Linked DNA regions of Homo sapiens: region 2 is linked to region 1. Evidence: promoter capture Hi-C in 16 types of primary human blood cells and fetal thymus (Javierre and others, 2016). All regions are on one chromosome and are shown on one strand. Each heading gives the region's core, a stretch centred on a gene start or on the middle of the fragment in contact. The rest is flanking DNA. Distances are from core to core; before and after follow the strand shown.

Region 1 (4,967 bases), core at 2,303-4,802:
CCACTGTATTGTGCATAAGTGGTGGCTAACAACTGTTTGTTGATAATGACAAGGATGCCCAGATATGCGCCGGATACTTGCTGTGTAAGAAGTTACCCTTAGCAGCACTCGCATGCAAATTTGAAACTTTTCTGGAGACCCGAAGACTTTAAACTTTTCTCATCCAAATGCTCATTTTTGTTGCTAATCTTAGTTTTCTAATGTTCCAATTTTCCTCTGTATTCTTTACCTTCTGGTTGTTACCATCTGTGTTGATTGGCCCTCCTAGTTATAGATTGTGTTTACATACAAGGGGCTGGGAAGATCTATGCTCCCCTCATGCGATGGTATTTCTGGGGCACTAATGCATGGTGCTGTGAAACACGTCTTTGGCTGAGCTAGCCAGTTCAAAAGCCAGCTTCACAGCGGAATTTCACACATGCAAATGAACCATTGTGATCTTAGTCATGAAAATTCATGGAATAGTGGCTAGTTCAGTGTGGATGACCTGTCAATTTGGCAGCCAATCAGTTGGTTAAACATCCAAATTACTGGCCAGTTACTCAGTCTAATGCTAGTCTTCCTGCTTGTTACTGGGTTCTATGTAATCCTATTAAAAGCAATGACATTCTCTTTGATTTGTGGCAGCTAATGGTGTAGAAGTACCACGCAGGCACAGGACATGTGTCTGGCACAGTTTTCACTTGGGCATTGTGAAAATGGACCACTTGTGTTACTGTTGGATTTATTCTTAAAACTCTAAATATCCTCTGTTGAATAACAGGCAAAGTATCTTAATTTCATGGGTGCACCCTATTTATTATTTTTATCAATTATAAATGGGAATTGCTCTAAGGATTGAATATTTTTTTTTTGATATGTACTAATTGATTTTGTTGGATCTATAGTTAGCTCCTTGGACTTGGTTGTACTGTCAGGCAGTTGGACAGAAAGCCGTGGAGACTCCTCATGGCCTGTTAGAACTTGGGATTTGATTGACAGTGACCCATCTACAGTTCAATTTAGACAAAAGATAGCAGTATTGATAGGCTGGGAAATGGATCTAGAACAGTAATTCCTAGTTACAGACCTCTTTGAGAATATGATGAAAACTCCAGACTTGGACTCCAGAAAAATGTGCCAAAAATCTAGCATGAAGGTTTTGAGATTTCCTGCATCTGTTGAAGTCCAGGGGTCCAGGGACCCACGAAACCTATGTTAAAATTCCTGTACTGAATGTCAGGGTATGGAGTGGGAATAAAGAGACACAGAGAAACAGAGAAGGAGGCACCAAGATAGAAAAAGATAAAAGAGCCACGGAAGAGAGTAGACTCGGAAGTAGAGAGAGACTGAGAGGCTGAAAGTAGATGTAACTGCAGTTCTCTTAGCCGAACATAATCTCGCAATGCTATACATAATTAGGTTCTAATAAACACTTTCTTATGTCCAGAATCTTGAGTTATTCTGTCAAATAAAAATCTCCCATATGAAAGACATGATATATCTTTCACCTGAGGATTTTTGACAGTGTTGAAAAAACATACAGGAACAAGCATTTCATTTTAAAGGCAAGCATGAAGATTTTTAAAAGAACAGTGTAAGTTAAAGGGTCAGTTGGCTTGTAAATGCAAAAGCTTTTGTGTTTACTGAAGGCCATTGGTAGAAAAATTGTAAAAATAATACTGATTGGGAAGCATCAGTCATACTTTTTTTCAAAGAGTTTTTAATATATAGTATTGTATTTTATTTTCACAACAACCCTTTTTGTTAGGTAGGGCAAAAACTGCCATATGTGTTTTGAACATGAAGAAATTGAGACATGTGTATGGAGACTTATCTGGAATGATGAATACTCCAGGAAAAAGTGAATTCTGGAAACCAGATTTCCCAGCTCTGATTCTCAGGTGAATCCATATATCCCTGTTAGATATTAACACCCACATAGCCAGTGTATATTACAAATATAGTGTCTTCTTGTTTCTTAAAATGAAATAAAATTGACGAATTGGAACATGAATTAAAAATAGTGTTCTTGAAATGGGACAAAATAACAGGATCGTAGAACTTTAGAATGTAGGAGACCCTAGACATGAATAATCTCACCTACTTGTTAAGGTCCTTGTTGAGGACAAGGACTTGTCCCAGAGGGCTTGAGATTTGAACAAGACCTGGTGAGTGGAGACATATGGGAGAGACACTAACAGCAGAATGAAATAAGGACTTGCTCTCAACTCTGCTTTTTTTCCCACTCCCACCCAGGGGAAGAAGCAGGATTTAAAAGCATCTATTCTATGTTTTATATAACTTAGATGGAATGTCTTGATAATAATTTTGAAAAATCAGGTGTGAATCAAATCCAGTTCTCTTCTCAGACTATACCTGGGAACTTTAAAATTCCAGTGTTTTCTCAGAAGTTGTCTGTATAGGATAATGTAAAATTCTTTACATTCTGTTGGCCTGGGAAATTTTACATGGCTAAGAAAATATAGTAGAATAATTGCTCTGCTTCTCAGACTATAGTAGAGATTCCTAGGTTAGCATAGGTAATTCATGTTTCAAGGATGAATATGGTCATATATATCCATACATGCCCATATTCAATTATTCATGATTGTGGTATATATATATATACACACACACACATGCATACACACACATACATATGATATATAGATATATAATTGTGAGCATTTATAAAAGCATTAGGTCTGCAGGATATTTAAACACTCTTCATTTGTAACTTGCATTTTAGGGGGAATTATTTAGCTATGCGAGATATCACCATATTCAGTTTTTTTAATATAATAAACATGTCTAGTCAAAGAAGGCATTAATGAAGCAATTCCCCAAATAAAACAGCCCATGATATCTGAGTTGCAGCAGAGAGAGAGTGTGGTCTTTGTAGTTTAATCAAGATCACAAGACTTGTTTTGAGCGTCTGTCATCTTTAATTTTACGGCACTTCATTTCAGAGTAGGACTGCCAGGGTCACATGCAATTAAAACACAGGCAAGACTTGTCTTGTGAAATCTTAACATAAAAAGTAATGTGTTACTCCATTTTAACTTTTCTACTGAACTCCGTGAACTCACTAATTACTTTTCCCCCCTCTTGTCACCTTTTTGATATGACATGTATTTTATAGAGGAGATAGAAATTTGGATTTTTTTAATATCATGCATATGATTGAGGATAACAAAATTAAACCAGAGAAAAAAGGAATGCGTTTTTCAGAAATACATTTTTTAGTAATATCTGAGTACTCCAGCTTCAATTACAAAGAACCTCATAGATCAAATTCTAGGAAATAACTGTTAATCTGCTTAACTAGGGCAGGTAGAAGTGTAATAACGGACCAGAGATTTTACAGAGGCCAGGATCGTGAACCGGAGTTTATTCTCTGGGGTGCGGGCAAAAGCGCTTTTATGTGATTGGCTGAGAAAAGCATTAAAAGCCAGCGCCTACGTGGAGATTTGGAGCACAAGGAGGGTTGTTGCATCATAGTGATCAGTAAATTGCATAGACCCTTATTAACCTTATTGATAAGGAGCTTAGGGAAGACCCAGGCAGGGCGCAATATATTCTTCTTTTTGTTCTCCTGTCTGTCTCCGTTTGCAATCCCAGCCGCTTTGTATGGAGAGCTTTTACGCAGCACCTGAAAATTCAATGTGAGTAGCTGCGCCTTTAAGTTAGAGCCAGGGAATGGAGCGGGAGCCAGCCCATGCACAGGGGGTTCAGGGCCTATTTAACTGGTGCTGGGGACACCTGGAGAATGTTTGAAAATTTTGTGCTTAAAGAATCTTTTATATTACTCCTCTTTCAATGCAGCTGGGGTCTGTAGGGATCAGGGGATTATTTTTGATACCTGTCGAAAAGAGTTATGTCTACACTGATTTTCCATCCCTCACTACTAATTAACCTTATTGTATACAGGAAACAGTGTATTTAATACCTGCATTCTTTCTGTAATGCCAAGTAAAATGAAATCCAGTGTGAAATCTAGTTAGCGTTTGCCTTTTTGAAGTCATTTTTAAGTTTCCAGTTTTAGTGACTGTGACCTCAGAACTGATAGCTAGAAAAATAGTGAGCTCAAACCAATTTTGGTTTCAATTGTATTCCTCACTCCTTCCAACTTTAAAAGCTGCCTTTCACCTGGTCTGGTGAGGAGAATGGAGGAATGGAACATCCCGAGCTGGACCACGTTTCTCTGGAGTCTTCCATGTTGGCCTCTGCCTGTGGTTGTGAGGTTTCCCTTTAGGCCGGCCCCATAGGCCGGCCCCTACTCCATTAACCTGGTTTCTCTCCTTGGCAGTTGAACACCTGTGTCCCCTTCTTTTCAATCTGGGAGGCTGAAATTTGACAGACACATCATGGCAAAGTTGTGCAGCAGCGATACAAGTAGATGCTGAAGAAAAGGGAGGAATCTGAGCGCAGGATAAAATGCTCAAGAAAATCCCATTGGTGGAATGTTTGTGAGAGAAAAAAAAGGTAGGGTCTAGCAAGAAAGAGCAGAAATTAAACTGTGTAAAATGTCACCAAATGATGTGGAAAAATCCACATGTCTTCAAGTATGCTGCACAATATGGACTTAGAACACATTTTGCGAGTGATGTGAGAATGGTTAGCACAATGGTTACATTCCTGCTCTTAAAATTCCAGTGTGTGTGTGCATGTGTGTGTGTGTGTGCATGTGTGTCAAGTAAACTTGTTAGCGAAAATAGTGCCAGAGGAAAGTGAGGATTTTCAGGCCACTGCCTTGTATTTTCCAGATTCCTTGGCTTTTGAGATTTTCATATGTTGGTCAGAATGCCTATGCCTTATAACATTTGTCTGACATGTAAACCACACATTGATAAGTGGAGAGAAGGTTAGTGGAAGATGCTGCTGGGTGTCACAGATGCCTAAGACCCCCTCCTCCTCCCAGCTGACTTGAACCGGGACATCAAAATTTGCTGTCAGACTTGCATGGGTTAGATTGGTGAATCTTA
Region 2 (5,442 bases), core at 2,356-4,855, 1.4 Mb before region 1:
TCTTTGGCATCCTGCTAAAATGACTAAAGCACACCACCATTTACTCAGTGGAACCTTTACGGTTTGACTGGGAGAATCTGTGAGGCACAGCCTTAATCTCTTGAAAGAGCCCTTTGCGTTACTGAATACCCTAACCTTTTAATCTTTCCGAGGCTTTAGTAAAAGACTGTAGAGTCACATCCTCTGCTTTCTCTCCAGAGCAAGCTTTCTTGACAGCAAATCCCTTAATTTTAATTTTTTTTTTTTTTTTTGCCATCTGGAGAGACTGAGAATTTTCAAAATCATCAAGTCCTGGTTCCTTTTTTTAGTAGTTCTGTCCTCAATTTATCTCTCTTCTCTCACATTTTACTATAATCAGCAAGAATAAACAAGGCAGCACCTTCAACACTTAGCTTGGAAATCAGCTATATGACCACATGCATCACTAACAAGTTCTGCTTTCCGTGTAACCGTAGGAGACAATTTTGCTAATTTTTCTGCCACTCTATGACAAAGATCCTTCTTCCTCCAATTTTCAATAACATGCTCATCACTTCATTTTTCAGCTCTCATTGACAGTGTCCTTAATATCCAGGTTTCTGCTAACAATCTTATCAAGACTAGGCATTTTCTTTTTACTTTATTTTTTTATTTTTATTTATTATTTATTTTATTATTATTATCATTTTTTTTTTTTTTGAGACAGAGTCTTGCTCTGTCTCCCAGGCTGGAGTGCAGTGGTGCAATCTCGGCTCACTGCAACCTCCGCCTCCAGGGTTCAAGCAATTCTCCTGCTGCAGCCTCCCGAGTAGCTGGGACTAGAGGCGCACACTGCCACTCCCGGCTAATTTTTTGTATTTTAGTAGAAACGGGGTTTCACTGGGTTGGTCAGGCTGGTCTCAAATTCCTGAGCTCAGGCAATCCGCCCACCTCCGCCTCCTAAAGTGCTGGGATTACAGTCGTGAGCCACTGCGCCCAGCCCTATCTAGGCATTTTCTATCGTGTTTCTCAAAATTTCCCCTGCCTGCACCCACAGCCTGGTTCCAAAACCACTCTGAGAGTTTAGGTATTAGTTTTCCATACTAGTAACAAATTATCACAACCTTAGTGTCCTAAAACAATGCATATGTCTTACCTCACAATTTCTGCAGGTCAGGAGTCCTGGCACAGCTTGGCAGAGTCCTCTGCTAAGGACTGCAGTCAAGGTGTTGGCTGTGACTGAGATTCTCATCTGGAGGCTTGACAGAGGAAGAATCAGCTTCCAAGTTCACTCAGATTGCTGGCAGAATTCATTTTCTTGTAGCTACAAGGCTGAGGGAGCCGGCTTCTTGCTGGCCATTTCCTGGAGGCCTCCCTCAGCTCCTTACCATCTGGGCCTCCTAACATGGCCACTTCACTTTTTCAAAGTCTATAAGAGAGACAGAAAATCTCTAGAACAAGACAGGTTATTTTATCATGTGACATAATCATGAAGTGATAAAGTGACTCCTATCACTTTTGTCATATTCTATAGATTAGAATCAAGTCAAATTTCCCACCCAAGGGGAGGGTATGATACAAAGGGATAATATAGAAAGGTGAGTGTTAGGAGCTGAAAAATGCCCGCTTCCCCACAACCCACAAATTTATATGTCAAAGCCCACTGTACCCCAGAATGTAACTGTATTTAGAGATAAGGTACTATCATCTGAATGTTTGCATACCCACAACATTCATATATTGAAACCTACTCACCAAGGTGATGATATTAGGGGGTGGGACCTTTGGGAGATGATTAGGTCATGAGGGCTCTGCTGTTGTGAATGAGATTGCTGTCCTGATAAAAGAGACCCCAGAGAGATGCCTCACCCTTTCACCTTGTGAGGACACTTGAGAAGGCATCATCTTTGAAGCAGAGTGAGCCATCACCAGACACTGACTCTGCTGGTGCCTTCATTTTGGACTTCCCAGTGTCTAGAATTATGAGCAATAAGTTTCTGATGTTTATAAATTACCCAGTCTAAGGTATTTTGTTGTATTAGCTTAATTAAACTCAGACATAAAGTCTTTAAACAGATAATTAAGTTAAAATGGGGTCACTAGGGCAGGCCCTAATGCAATGATGGGTGTTCTTACAAGAAGAAATTAAGAGACAGACAAGTGCAGAAGGAAGACCATGTGAAGACACAGAGAGAAGATGGCCATCAACAAGCCAAGGAGAGAGGCCTCAGAAGCCAACTCTGCTGACACCTTGATCTCAAACTTCTAACCTCCAGACTCATGAGAAAATAAATGTCTGTTGTTTCAGCCACCCAGTCTGTGGTACTTTGTAGGGTCATTGGGGTCACTTTTGAGTCTACTCACCACAACTGGGAATATTATTGGTGGTTTTAAGACAGTGTCCTAAGAAACTCTTGGAGTTTTTACAAGGTATTCAGAGGGCCCTCAGAAGGAGTGGGTGAGAGGAGCTAACAAATGAGACCCTAGGGTTTCCAACTCCACCTCAGTGAATGAGTTCCATTTTAATCTGTTGTATTTATTGGAATTTCTACCTAGTAAGAACTTTCCAAATTCAAAGAATCCCTATAGTCTTTTCTGATGTGTTCCATCTCAGGAATATATTGCTCTTAGAAATTTTATTGATTGTTAAAATAGCACTGAACTTGTATTTAGAGCTGACTTCTGATATCCAACCTTAGAGATTCCAGGTTTTGAACTTTGAACAAACTCCTAAACACTCTGGATTTTTGTTTCTTCAATCATAAAATTATGAGTTTGAACAAAATTATTCTAAATTTCTTTCCATCTCTTACTAAATTATAGCACTTTTCATATTTTACTTTGAATTACTTTGCTTCTACTCTTACAGCGGAAGGATAATTCTATATTATAAAAAGCTTGTTTTGCTTGATTAATAATAAGGATTTCTGAGAATTAAAAACAAAACATAGTAAAAGTACTGCATATATTTGTACTGAAAAAGAACTTGACACTATTTCTCCAGCATTAGCAAGATGTATGAGATTTGTGTTTTGGGCATTGATTACGGTTTTTATTCTGAATTATGTATCTTTGGGAAAGAAAATTAAATTAGTCATAATAGATTGGCTATTTTCATAAGTTCTATCAGTGTAGAAGTATCATAGCCAATTTTAAGAGAAAATATCTTCTATCTTAAACCTCAATAGTTTTTATCTTTGTATTTTCAGAGAATAATTTAATATTTCTGTGATGTTTCTTTGGTGTCTATAAAAGCAAGCTACAAATTAGAAAGTGAAAATAAACTTCTTTTGTTTAAATTCCAAAGACGTCATCTGTAATTTTATTGCTTTTAGCCATTTCACTCACTTGTATGGGACTTTGAATCAATGAATAATTCTTTTCCCTCACACCTGTTGTCTGAACTTTCTGCCATAGTTAAAAACTTATCATTTTGTTTTACACTGTCAAAACTCATCCAAGAAATAAAGTACACCTTTACCTTCACTCACCATAACACAGTATTTATTTCCTTTAGGCAGTAGTGGTTCAGAGTTTGAGGTTTGCATGAGGTAAAAAACTTCCAAACGTTCCTTTAATTATCTGTTGATATCTATTTTGGTTCTTTCATTTTCAGTTCCTACAATGAAGGTCCCAGAACAGAACTTACATGAATACTTAGAAGGCCAAGTTTCTAAACCTTTACCAGACTAGCAAGAGATGTTCCATTCAAATAAGTTCTCTGATGTATGGGTGACAGGCAAGAGCTAAACTGACAGTGTTTGCTGAATTCTGCAAGCCCATAGGGGGCAGGATTCCACCTGCTTGGGATCTTCTACTGGCGTAAACTCAGGGACCAGGCTTTATAAAATGAAACGGGCTGCGAGGGAACAGCCAAAGTGAAGGCAGATTGTGTGCTCAATGACCGTATGGTTTTCATTATCTTGTTCTCAAGGAAGAATTCATCCAAAGAACAACCAAATGAAAGCAATGTGTAAACCATGTCAACCCATCCTTGGATGGATGTGCCACATTTGCTCCATTATTGGTGGTGATTGTATAAAGGTGGGGAAAAGGGAGAGGAAGTGGGAAAAATGAAGGTAGTGCAAAAAGAAGGTGCAGAAGGAGCAAGAAAAAAGAAATGTCAGCCACTCAGCTGTCTCATTATGTAGCTTCCCACACTCACCAAAGATGTAATTCATCCTGCAGGTGCAAACATTGTTGGCTTTCTCATGGACTCTTGACGGATGGACCGGATGCATGTTTCCTTACCCCAGATGCTCTTTAGCAACACCAGCAATGAGATAGGGGATTGTGTGCACCTGAATCAGCACATTCACTGAGTCTTATTTGTCTTGTTTCTTAAATAACCAGTAGTGTTGTGCACAGAGCGACAACAACCAGGCAGAGGAAGCTTTTTTAAATATTAAAAAAATGGCCAATCTAAACACTTTTGTGAGTCACTTCTTAATAATTGCCTCTAAGATAAGTATGTCATTACTGCTCTGATACTCATCACCCACAGACTCACTAGTGGATGATTATCAGATCATGTGACAGCATTGGACCCTGTAATAAAATTCATGCTCATGTTTTCCACAAGATTTTCAAAAATTGAAGATGAATTTTCTACTATAAACTGAGAGAAAATTAGATTTTCAAGTTATCTGAACAGATAACATATTAGAAATGGGAAGGTTCCTGCTCTCTGAATCAGCTTCTCCTCCCCTCCCCTCCCGGCTCATTAGCTCCCACCAACTTTGAGGATTCCAAGATCCCAAACAAAACTGATTCTTTTCTGGTTGAAGTTCCATTGACTCTTGGCAAAATGTAACTTCCTGGTTCAAAGAAAAAAAGCTTGTAAAAAAAAAAGCTCACAAGGCTTCTTAGACATCAAATGGGTCTTATGAAACCACATTTTGATGAGCTAAGTGTAAATGAATCAGAAACACATGGATTAAATTTCCCTTGAAATACACATGGGTTTGAAAATTAAGGAAAAACTGTTTAGCCAAATGTGTTTTGGGTTTCCTTGAACTGAAAACATTTGAAAAAAAAAAAAAAAGAAGTCAAGGCATTTGCTAAACCCGAATACACTGTTGTGTTTGCTCAACCCTCCTTCAAACCAACTAAATTTCCACGAGGCTTCCTCCATTCCCCTGTGGTTTGTTTTGTCACCTCTGTCTTGACACTTTACAGACCAAACTCAAGTTCCATTAAAAAAAAATAGACCGTTGGTCATCTACTTAAATATGAGGGAGCTATTAAAACACCCAGCGAATCAGAGACATTAAGGGATAGAAATCACCCATTAGGTCATGATTTCTGTCCTGAGGGTTGGAACACATGCACTCACAGCTCTCTAGTGCTTTACCCAGTGTAGTTTTAAATGTCTCAAGTGACAGAACTTCCACCAGCTCCCTTGGGAGAATATTGTGCATTCTAATAGATTTTGCCATTAGGAACTGTGCCTAAGTCTATAACAGAGGCACAGTGGGATGTCTA

The links. The method cuts DNA at HindIII sites, captures the fragments that hold promoters and counts their contacts. A CHiCAGO score of 5 or more calls a contact.
Region 2: a contact is called between a fragment that was not itself captured here and the fragment with the promoter of ARHGAP15-AS1 in region 1, in 1 of 17 cell types (neutrophils). The highest score is 6.1, in neutrophils.

What each region holds. Positions count from the first base shown.
Region 1 is chr2:143,774,683-143,779,649 of GRCh38, reverse strand. ARHGAP15-AS1 (ARHGAP15 antisense RNA 1) reads left to right here and starts at 3,552. Exons shown (of 8, transcript XR_007087251.1): 1 at 3,552-3,647; 2 at 4,292-4,467. RefSeq lists an enhancer at 1-156. The HindIII fragment of the contact is 5,908 bases long and covers 1,616-4,967 here.
Region 2 is chr2:145,184,813-145,190,254 of GRCh38, reverse strand. It overlaps LOC100505498 (a long non-coding RNA gene), which reads right to left. Exons shown (of 8, transcript XR_923410.3): 5 at 3,450-5,442; 6 at 1,115-1,387. Among named protein-coding and RNA genes, the nearest start is that of LINC01966, 310 kb to the right of the region's middle. The HindIII fragment of the contact is 1,496 bases long and covers 2,858-4,353 here.